Regions from separate parts of the Homo sapiens genome. Here region 1 is linked to region 2. The links are contacts of gene promoters, found by promoter capture Hi-C in blood cells and fetal thymus (Javierre and others, 2016). All regions are on one chromosome and are shown on one strand. The core of a region is centred on a gene start or on the middle of the fragment in contact, and the rest is flanking DNA. Distances in the headings are between cores, read along the strand shown.

Region 1 (5,830 bases), core at 1,249-3,748, 41 kb before region 2:
AAATTTTTTTGGCCTTATTGAGGTATAAGTGACAAATAAAAATTATACATGTGTACAGATATGAAATTTTATAAAGGAGTGAGTTCCATCCTTAATTAGTTTCACAGACTTTTTAGTTGTCTAATGATGAGGTATCTTCCCATTGCAACACTCTGACCCATATTCCTCGGCTGACTGCAGTTGTCTGCCTCTCTTGCAATCAAGACAAACTTGGTCCATTCCTTACTCCTGAACTCATAAGTTTTGCAACATCTCTCTACCTTGAAAACCCCATAGCATCCAGATGAGACTGTTGACACAGGTGCCTATCTCGCTAGGATTAAGTGCATTCTTTCCACTTCAAGGCAATCTGAATGGAAATACTTGATACTATTAAATTGTGCTACTGCATCCACATAGAGAGATGAACTGCCTTCCTTTGCCCCCTCCCAACTTCGTATCTTTATTGCAGAAATATACAAAGAGATAAATAGGAAACTGATAAACCGACAGAGAACTGAACTATATTGGGTTGGGGTACAGATTACCACAGATGGTTTAAAATAGTTTCCAGATGTCACATTACTCTGGAAAATTTGAAAATGGCAGTAGCACCAGCCCAAGCAGCTCAGGGTAAAGAAACTTTTATCCAATTTACAAAGCATCCAAAAGGTAGAGTCAAAATTACACACTCAGACCAGGCGCGGTGGCTCACTTTGGGAGGCTGAGGCAGGAAGATCACTTGAGCCCAGTCTACATAACGAGATCCCGTCTCTACAAAAAAAATTTTTTTTTTTTTGAGATGGAGTCTCACTCTATCGCCCAGGCTGGAGTGCAGTGGCACCGATCTTGGCTCACTGCAACCTCTACCTTCCGGGTTCAAGTGATTCTCCTGCCTCAGCCACCAGAGTAGCTGGGATTACAGATATGCGCCACCACACCCAGCTGATTTTTAGTAGAGACAGGGGTTTCACCATGTTGGCCAGCTGGTCTTGAACTCCTGACCTCAGGTGATCCACCCGCCTCAGCCTCCCAAAGTGCTGGGATTACAGGCATGAGCCACCACACCCGGCCTATAAAAATTTTTTTTTAATTAACCAGGCATGGTGACACATTCCTTTGGTCCCAGCTACTTGGAGGCTGAGGTGGGAGGTTCGCTTGATCCCAGGAGATCAAGGCTGCAGTGAGCCATGATCGCACCACTGCACTGTAGCCTGGGAGGCAGAGCAAGACCTTGTCTCAGAAAAAAAAAATTTTTTAAATAAAATTACACACTCTGCAGCTATGGCCTTCATGCACAGGGTGATCACGTCTTGTTGTTCCCATTCTAGTTTACACAGGCCAAATAGCATCGTTCATTGTTTTGGAACACAAGTACATACCACATGTTCATCATGGTGGCATTTAAGATTTCAGGTAAGTTTTCTGAATGGTAGACAGGGAAGCCGAGAGTGGGAGGAAATGAGAGAATTGATTAGAGCCATAGTATCCATCTTGTAAATCTTTCATCTTTCTCTGCCCAAGTCTGGGGTGGGGTTAGGGGGGTAAGGAAAAGATTTAAAAGTTGCTCACCTGATAACAGGTCCCAAGAGGATTAGATGCATAAATAATGATAGCGGTTTATCTTTGGCTAGATCTCTGTGGACAAAAATGAGGGTCAACTGGACCATAATGGATGAAAACATAAAGAAAGAAAAGGTGTATGTCATCCAGTAAGTTTCACTATTCTTTCGATAGATTCTAACCATGTACAAAGCAGATGCAGCCTCCCCACAGTACAAAAAGGTGGAGAAAAGGATGCTAAATGGAAAAGTAAATCGGGGGTTGGCTCCACGGATGACATCTTCCTCCAGAGATGAAACCGGATCCACATTTGGCTCCTCAGGAATTTCATAAACTCTGTCCATTGTCGAGGTTCTTTCTGAATGTTGTGGTCTTGTGTTCATAGCACCCTCCCACCCATCCCCAAGAGAACCCTATGGCCGCTACAGTCCAAGTATAGGTGAGGAGAGCTCTGTCAAGTCCAGTTTGGGAACAGAGATTCACTAGTTAGAGCAAGAAACCGCTCTCTTCTAGACTCAGATTCGACTTGGAGTCTGGGATGGAAAGCCCAGGAGTACCACTTTGAACTTGACTCTTGATTGGCCCCGATTCCAATCGTCAACATACTTGCTGTGAAACTTGAACAAGACAAAAGCAAGCATCCCAGCGCCCCATCCAGAGTCCAACTCCAGGGACGTGAAGAGTCATGAGAACAGCGGCTTCCGTGGCGGCTCCTTTCGCAGCCCCTCAGGCAGGGTGTAGCCGATCTGTCGGGGGCACCGACACTCAGCAGCTCCTCACAAAGAGTCCTGACCAGTGTGTCCTCTCAAGTCAGCGGAGAGCTGAGCCAGGGCAGAAGAGCGGGCGCAGAAGAAGGAGGGCAGAAGAGGGGATTCAGTTCAGTGCCTAGGTATCCTAGCTATTGCTAGGCTGTAGCTATCAGCTGGCCCGCTCACCTGCGCGCTCTCAGGACCTTTGCCGAGTCCAGGGTTCTCAGGATAGCTCCTCGGATTCCCCCAAGCCCCGCCCCCAAGACCGCCTGGCCCGGGAGTGGAGTATTGTCACCACCCTGTCTCCGAATGCAGTGTTGAGGGACAGAAGCAGAGCGCGCTCGCTCTACAGGATGAAGAAAAGGCTGGAGGGGCTGCTTCTCCTCGGAGAAACTTTGCTAGTGAGAGGCACGATGTGCGGGGCGCCAACCTGGCTGGACGGAGGTCGCCAAACTCTTGGACGCCGTCTGCTGCCAGGGTCCTGCCTGGTCTGCGATTCCAGCTGCGAGAGGTCGGCAGCTTCAAAAACTAAGGCACCGGGACGGCGGGGGCGGGCGAGATGGGCGGGACGGCTGCGGCCAAACAAAACCAGCCGGAGAGTTCCCGGGCAGGCGGCCAGCCGAGGGATGCTCGTTGTGGAGTGGCGGGACAAAAAGGGGCTTGGGCCGCTCTTCAGAAGCACTTCTGACCACCACCTCCAGACCCAGGCAGGAGCCACAGCTTTACTCCTCCCTAGGAGCAGCAGGCCCCCACTTCTACCCCGCCCTCCCTAACTAGTTAAGTGACTTGCTTCAACACTCACTCTACCCACGCTGTTAGGCAGGTGTGTCTCCCTCCGCCGCAGGGTGGAACCTCCCTAGGTCCTATTGCCCTCCAGATAATATCATGAAGGGGGAACCTGGGAGGAATAGGGTCAGAGTTTTCGGCGGAGGGAAGATAGAACAGGATAAAGGTCAAGACTCAAGGTCAGCCCACAGACACTGAAAGCTCATATTTTATGCCTTGATTTCTCCACTTGCAAAATGAGGCCAGGATAGGAGCTTTAGAATGAACTTACAGGTCTTTGGTTGAAAGGTTATGAAGAGGTGCCAAATTCTAAACAGACTGGCAAAGAGCCAAGAGAGAGCTGTTAGTAAAAACTGAGAGGGGTGTCTTAAAGAGCTTTGAAAATTACCTGTATTCTTAAGTGTAATCCTCCCCACCTCACTGAGCTTTTGTTTTCATATCTTCATTTGCATAATTCTAAACCTCAGAGAAAAAGAGAACACATCTGCCTCCTGGTAATAATATAGATGAAGGCCAGGCACAGTGGTTCACGCCTGTAATCCCAGCACTTTGGGAGGCTGAGGCAGGCAGATCACTTGAGGTCAGGAGTTCGAAACCAGCCTGGCCAACGTGGTGAAACCCCATCTCTACTAAAAATACAAAAATCAGCTGGTCGTGGTGGTGCGTGACTGTAATCCCAGCTACTCAGGAGGCTGAGGCAGGAGAAAAACTTGAACCCGGACGGCAGAGGTTGCAGTGAGCTGAGATCACGCCACTGCACTCCAGCCTGGGCAACAGAGCAAGATTACGTCTTAATAATAATAATAATAATAATAATAATAATAATAATAATGATGATTATGTAGCAGAGCCTGTGCCAATCTCCTTTTGCTGCAGGAAGTCAGTAAAACAAATCTATGTGAGGAGTGGCCAAGTAGCAGCCACCAAAATAATGGCCTCCAGGTTGTCCTGTCATTATGTTGTTTTTTGTTTTTTTAAGGTTTCCATGATTGCTGCCTCCTTTCCCCAGGGCTGATTCAGGGACAGATTCAACATCTAAAGGTTGTCACCTTCTGAAGCAGACTCCGCATCTTGGTCTGCACCTATGCTAGCAGCTGGGCTAGGAGGCTGCTCCTTTCTCCTTTCCATTTCATGAAGGAGGTCAACACTATTGAGAACAACTTCAGAGAGTGTTCTTTTTCTTATTAGTTGGGACATTCCAACTGGGACAAGGTTCTCCACCACCAGTATATGGTGCAGAACCTCTTGGGGCTGCTCTAGGTAACTGTTCACAAGGTGAATCTCAGGCAAGGTGACCAATTAATCCCATTTCACTGGGATAGGGTGAGTTGGTCCCCCTAAACATGAGAGAGTCAGCCGGGCGCGGTAGCTCATGCCTGTAATCCCAGCATTTCGGGAGGCCAAGGTGGGTGAATGGCCTGAGATCAGGAGTTTGAGACCAGCCTGACCAACATGGTGAAATCCTGTCTCTACTAAAAATTCAAAAATTAGCTGGGCGTGGTGGTGGGCACCTGTAATCCCAGCTACTCGGGAGGCTGAGGCAGGACAACCCCTTGAACCCAGGAGGCAGAAGTTGCAGTGAGCCAAGATAGCACCATTGCACTCCAGCCTGGGTGACAAGAGTGAAACTCCATCTCAAAAAAATAAAAATTAAAAATAAAAAAAAAAAAAAACATGGGAGAGTAAAGCTAAGAAGAAGAATGTAGAATCCCAACGTTTACCTTTTAGCCTTTCCTCCTTCTTCTCCATGGCCTTGTCTCTCCCCAAATACAAAAATTTACAATGCCTTCCTACTTTGTTCCAAAATGACTCCTTCTGTCTGTCATTCAAGGCTCTATATAATCATCACACTACTTCCCTCTCAGATTTTATTGCCCACACTACTCCTTCCACAAGGCCAGCCAGTTTTCTCACTTCTCCTATTTGCGTTGCTCACTCCCACCTCTGCCTTGTTGATGCGATTTACAACCCCCTTCACCCTTTTCTCCATTAGTCCAAACCATAACTTTCTTTCAAGGGTCAGCCGAAGTGCTCCCACCTCCAAGAAGCCTTCTGTCACCTCCCCAACCCTCATTTTTCTCTCTTCATGCTACTGGCACATGCTCTCTCATACTAGTCCTTCAACTATTTCTGTGTTTGTCCTGCCTCCCCCCAAAAATGTAAAGTTAGTGAGGGAAGGATGCTCAATGACTGTTTATTGTGGCACTTGTTGATGACAATGGTGATTGACAAATGGTGATGATGATGACGCTTCCTCCCCCATACTTCCTCCTTGAAACCATGCAAGACTCAGACACACTCATCTCTAAAAGCTGTGGCCACTGTAGCTGGGGCATAAACTCCTCTGGCTGAATGAGCACTGTCTCATTCAGCCATCAGCTCACAGAGGTTCCCAGACCACATGATCTGTCCCTTCTCAAGGATTTCTATAGCATTCTTTTGTTTATACCAGAGTGTAGCACCAAAATTATTTCAAGTATATTAATTTTTATTCCCCAACTAAATTATCACGGGCTCCTTGAGGGCAGAGCCCTTATTACTGTACTTTTGTTGGACTCCCCCATGACTGGTATAGACCTGTAAAGTTCCTGTCATCTGATCACCCTCACCCACCAACTTCTCTATTTTCAGCCCTAGGATTCTCTGGCGCTTTAGGTCACTAAATCCTCTGGTCTCTTATTTCCCCGTTCCTTTGCCCTGCTGGGAGTAGCTAACTGAGAATTTGCTGTTTCTGTCCAAACACTCTTTGCTCT
Region 2 (5,118 bases), core at 2,356-4,855:
ACCAGCCTGGCCAACATGGTGAAACCATGTCTCTACTAAAATATAAGAATTAGCTGGGCATGGTGGCAGGTGCCCGTAATCCCAGCTACTTGGGAGGCTGAGGCAGGAGAATTGCTTGAACCCAGGAGGCGGAGGTTTCAGTGACCTGAGATTACGCCACTGCACTCCAGCCTGGGTGACGAGAGTGAAACTCCGTTTCAAAAAAAAAAAGCAATGTAATCCCTAATGTTGGAAGTGGGCCTGCTGGGAGGCGTTTGGGTCATGGGGGTGGATCCCTCATGGTTTGTCCTCATGATAGTGAGTGAATTCTCCTAAGATCGGGTTGTTTAAAAGTGTGTGGCACGTCCCCCCAACTCTCTTGCTCTTGCTGTCACCATGTGATGTGCCTGCTCCAGCTTCACCTTTTGCCATGAGTAAAAGCTCCCTGAGGCCTCCCCAGAAGCCGAGCAGATGTTGGTGCCATGCTTCCTGTACAGCCACTAGAACTGAGAGCCAATTAAAACTCTTTTCAGCTCTCAGGTATTCCTTTATAGTAGTGTGAGAATGGCCTAATACAAGGTCTAATCAGAATTTAGCCTGTCTCAGTCACGTTTCCTGTCTCAGTCACATTTCCATTCACCTTCTTCAGTCAAAACTTTTCCTCCATACTTCTAAGCAGGTACCAAAGAAAATAACATGAATTCAGAGTCATCTATAAAATAAGAAAACAACTAAATCAAGATAGGGGAAAGGTACAGTAAATTATTCCTCTACCTAACACATTTCTGGGCATGACAGAAAAACAGCAGTATCAACTGGGTTACTTCCCTTGATGGCTAGCACAAGATCTCAGCTATAGACAGCTCCCCTTGGATGGCAAGTATGGAGAAAAGAAAGGGAAAACGCAACCTCCAGTTGGCCAAAAATCAATCTACATATTTAGAAAAGCCTTCAGCTGAGACCTTTCAAAGGACTGTAAAGTGCCTCATTCAGATAAAGATAAGTGTTCATATAGAGTATCATCCAAGCCTGGACACTTTTGTGCATGAAAGGAGGCACTATTAGTAATGATTCTGGGATGGAGGTTGGCAAATTTTTCCTAAAAATGGCCAGATAGTAAATATTTTAGGTTTTAGAAGACACATACGGTCTCTGTCATATATTCTTTTTCTTTTTAACCCTTTAAGAATGTAAAAACCATTCTAAGCCCAGACACCGTAAGAAAACAGGCCAGGAGGCCGGGCACGGTGGCTCACGCCTGTAATCTCAGCACTTTGGGAGGCCGACGGGGGCGGTCACCAGAGGTCAGGAGTTCAAGACCAGCCTGGTCAACATGGCAAAACCCCATTTCTACTAAAAATACAGAAAAATTAGCCAGGTGTGGTGGCACAAGCCTGTAATCCCAGCTACTCAGAAGGCTGAAGCAGGAGAATCGCTTGAACCCGGGAGGTGGAGGTTGCAGTGAGCCGAGATCGCACCATTGCACTTCAGCCTGGGCGACAAGAGCAAAACTTGGTCTTAAAAAAAAAAGAAAGAAAGAAAGAAAGAAAACAGGCTAGGATACAAGTTTGGCTATGGGCTTGGGGGAAAACACACATCAAGTCTGTTCTGGTCAAATAGATACATAAGTCACCCTAGCTGAAGGCCTGGTCTGTGATCCAATTCAAAATTTAGAATTAAGAGTAAGTATGTGGGCCGGATGCGGTGGCTAATACCTGTAATCCAAGCACTTGGGAGGCCAAGGTGGGTGGATCACCTGAGGTAGGAGTTCAAAACCAGCCTGGCCAACATGGTGAAACCCTATCTCTACTAAAAATACAATAATTAGCCGGGCATGGTGGTGTGCGCCTGTAGTCCCAGCTATTTGGGAGTCTGAGACAGTAGAATTGCTTGAACCTGGGAGGTAGAGGTTGCAGTGGTCTGAGATCGTGCCACTGCACTCCAGCCTGGGTGACAGAGCAAGACTCTGTCTCAAAATAAGAATAATAAAAATTTTTAAAAACCTACAATGATGAGAGTATGTCAGAGGGAGGAGTCAACTGAAAGAGCTCCCCAGGCCAAAGTTGGAACGACTTGAGCAAGAAAATAAAGAGGTATTGATTATAATCAGAGGATAAAATAAATATATGTGAGCCCATACTGTATAAATGAATGATTTAATAAACAAATGTGTAAGAATAGACAGACCCCCCCCCCATACAGAAGAATTCCAAACAACTTTTGTAGATACTCCACCTCAAGGAGGTGGAGGATAACTCCCCATTCTATAAGTATGGCCAATGCATACTGATTTCCTTCTAAAGAGTACAGGATAGAAAGTAGGGGGAGTATCTTTACAGTGGAGAAATCTGATAAACACTGCCTCGGCCAGGTGATCAAGGTTAACATCATCAGTGATAAGTCATGTTGACAGCATGTATCCTTGATATGATGTGATGAGGATGGCACGTTACCTCTGTGGCCTTCCTCCCAAGAACACATAACTTCAGTCTAATCATGAGAAAAACATCAGATAAACAACAAGTGAGGGGTATTCTACAAAATACCTGATGAACACTCCTGTCAAGGTCATCAAAGACAAATAGAGTGGCTGGATGTGGTATCTCATGCCTATAATTCCACCCCTTTGGGAGGCCACAGTGGGAGGATCACTTGAGGCCAGGCTTCAAGACCAGCCTGGGCAATATAGCAAGACCCTTCTCTAAAAAGAATAAAAAATAAATTAGCCAAGGATGGTGGTGCATGCCTGCAGTCCTAGGTACTTGGGAGGCTGAAGCAGGAGGATTGCTTGAGCCCAGGAGTTTGAGGCTGCAGTTAGCCATGATCACACTACTGCACTCCAGCCTGGGCCACAGAGCCAGACCTTGTCTCCAAAAAACAAAACAAAACAAAATCTGAGAAGCTTAAGTTAAAAACTAAGGAAATCTGAATGAAGTATGGACTTTAGTTAATAACAATGTATTAATACTGGTTCATTAATTGTAACAAATACAGCATCGTAAGATGTTAACAATGAGGGAAATTGGGTGTTAGGGATGGTTACTCACTGTACTGTCTTAGCAATTTTTCTGTATATCTAAAACCATTCTGAAAAATAAAGCATTTTATAAAAAGTTCACTAAGTATGATACAGTTTGGCTAGAAGAGATAGAGATACGCAGAGCAGAGGCAGTTTCTCTGGTATCTGAGGTCTGCAAGACCTTTGACCTAATACAGACCCTGAAGCCAGAATGCCTAGGTTTGAATTCTGGCTTTACCATTTATTAGCTAGGTAACCTTTGGCAAGTTATGTAACCCCTTTGTGAACAACTTCATCTCTGAAAAGTAGGAATGATAGCCCCTACTTTGTCATGCTGTAGTAAGGATTAAATGAATTAATGTGTATAAAGTGCTTTAATGAGCCCTGGCACAAAGTAAATTCTATATAAATATTTTGTAAAATGAATAAAAACTATGATGACTTAAAGTTCCTTTAGTAATTATCTATAATCATACAAGGTAAGGAGATATGAGTTTGGTTGCTATGAACCAGGTAGTGGTTGCCACAGACATGTCAGTACCGTGACAACCATTATTAGGACATTGCCATAGCTTTTATAAATGGACAACCTAAGCTGTGTTAATCTGACAAGAAGGCTAGAAAGCTCAATGCGTCTTCCTATTACTCTGCATATCTTATGTCTTCCATCCAAAAAGAATCAACTTATCAGATAAATAACCACCTCATGGTAAGCAAAATATGTCACTATCTTCATTTTACAGATAAGAAATTTGGAAATGGTAGGTTTAGTTGAGGTGATTTCACTTCAGGCTACCCAGAAGAGGCACTAGAAATAAAGGATCAGTCCAGCAATCCCTAATTCAATCATTTTCCCAGTTGGGTTTTCATACCTACCCTTCCTTATAAAGGAAGAACTTGTGTGATGCCAATTTGACACTTCTTGGTGGCACTGACAAACACAGAGAGCCTGACATCAAGTTAGAAGGCTCTGCCAATTATTAGGAAACAGACATGAAGCGGTTACTGGCCTCTTCTCCAAGGGAGATGGCTATCAAGGAACCCAGACAATTAGGCTCTGATGTTTCAGGCTCCTGGTCATATCAGCTTCATGTGCAAAACTGGAGTAAGGCTGGTTTTGATCACAGGCCATATATAAAGTTTCTTTTTTGTCTGGCATAAGCCAGAGCCATTCTCCAGGAGGTCCTTATGGGAAACCTAATGATCTCCTAGGGTCTGAGCTGTGCTATAAGAAATGCTATGAAATGTTAGTATTTTGGAATGGCAACTCTCCAGAACAGTAAATGACTGGATGACTCTGCAGAACCCTGATAAATTATCCATTGATAAGCTGGCACATAAACTGTGCTCATCAGATAGCTAAGCAAAGCCCATCGAAGCATTAACTGAAGTACTTTGCTAACCCAACCAGGGCTTCCTCCAATTTTGGGCTTCAACATACAGTCGTCCCTCAGTAAACTCGGGGGAAATGGGTTCCTGAACCCCCTCATATACCAAAATCTGTGCATTCTCAAATCCTGCAGTTGGCACTGCGAAACCCATGTATATGAAAAGTTAGCCCTGCATATACGTGGGTTTCACATTCACAAATATCCTCATTTGGTTGAAAAAAAAAAAGCCTGGTATAAGTAGACTCATGCAGTTCAAACCCATGTTGTTCAAGGGTCAACCATAATTAGTCATTAGGAAAATGTAAATTGAAACCACAATGAAATACCTACCTCACACCCACTAGGATAGCTGTAAACAAAAAACAAGCATTACTGGTGGGAATGTAAGATGTTGTAGCCACTTTGCAAAACAGTCTGGCAGTTCTTCAAGAGGTTAAATATAGATTTATTATATAACCCAGCAGTAATACTCCTAGGTATATACCCAAGAGAAAAGAAAACATATCCACACAAAAACTTATATACAAATGTTTATAGCAGCATTATTCATAACAGCCAAAAAGTAGAAACAATCCACTTTCCAAGGATGAACCTTGAAGTGATTGCCTAAATTATCCTTTTTACTTAGGCATTCACTTCCAAATCCAGCTGCGCATTGACATCACCTGGGAAGCTTATGCAGCTCCCTGGCAATCTTTGAGGATGGGATACCTGGATTAATGTTTGAAT

Evidence for each region. Contacts are between HindIII fragments. The CHiCAGO score rates a contact against its expected background, and 5 or more counts as called.
Region 1: a contact is called between the fragment with the promoter of XKRX here and the fragment with the promoter of ARL13A in region 2, in 12 of 17 cell types (neutrophils, naive CD8 T cells, fetal thymus and 9 more). The highest score is 10.9, in neutrophils.

Annotation. Positions count from the first base shown.
Region 1 is chrX:100,926,419-100,932,248 of GRCh38, forward strand. It overlaps XKRX (XK related X-linked), which reads right to left and starts at 2,499. Exons shown (of 3, transcript NM_212559.3): 1 at 1,552-2,499. The coding sequence starts at 1,886. RefSeq lists enhancers at 703-1,902, 3,096-3,145. The HindIII fragment of the contact is 22,335 bases long and covers 1-5,830 here.
Region 2 is chrX:100,966,103-100,971,220 of GRCh38, forward strand. It overlaps ARL13A (ARF like GTPase 13A), which reads left to right and starts at 3,606. Exons shown (of 8, transcript NM_001162491.2): 1 at 3,606-3,707. The HindIII fragment of the contact is 2,181 bases long and covers 2,880-5,060 here.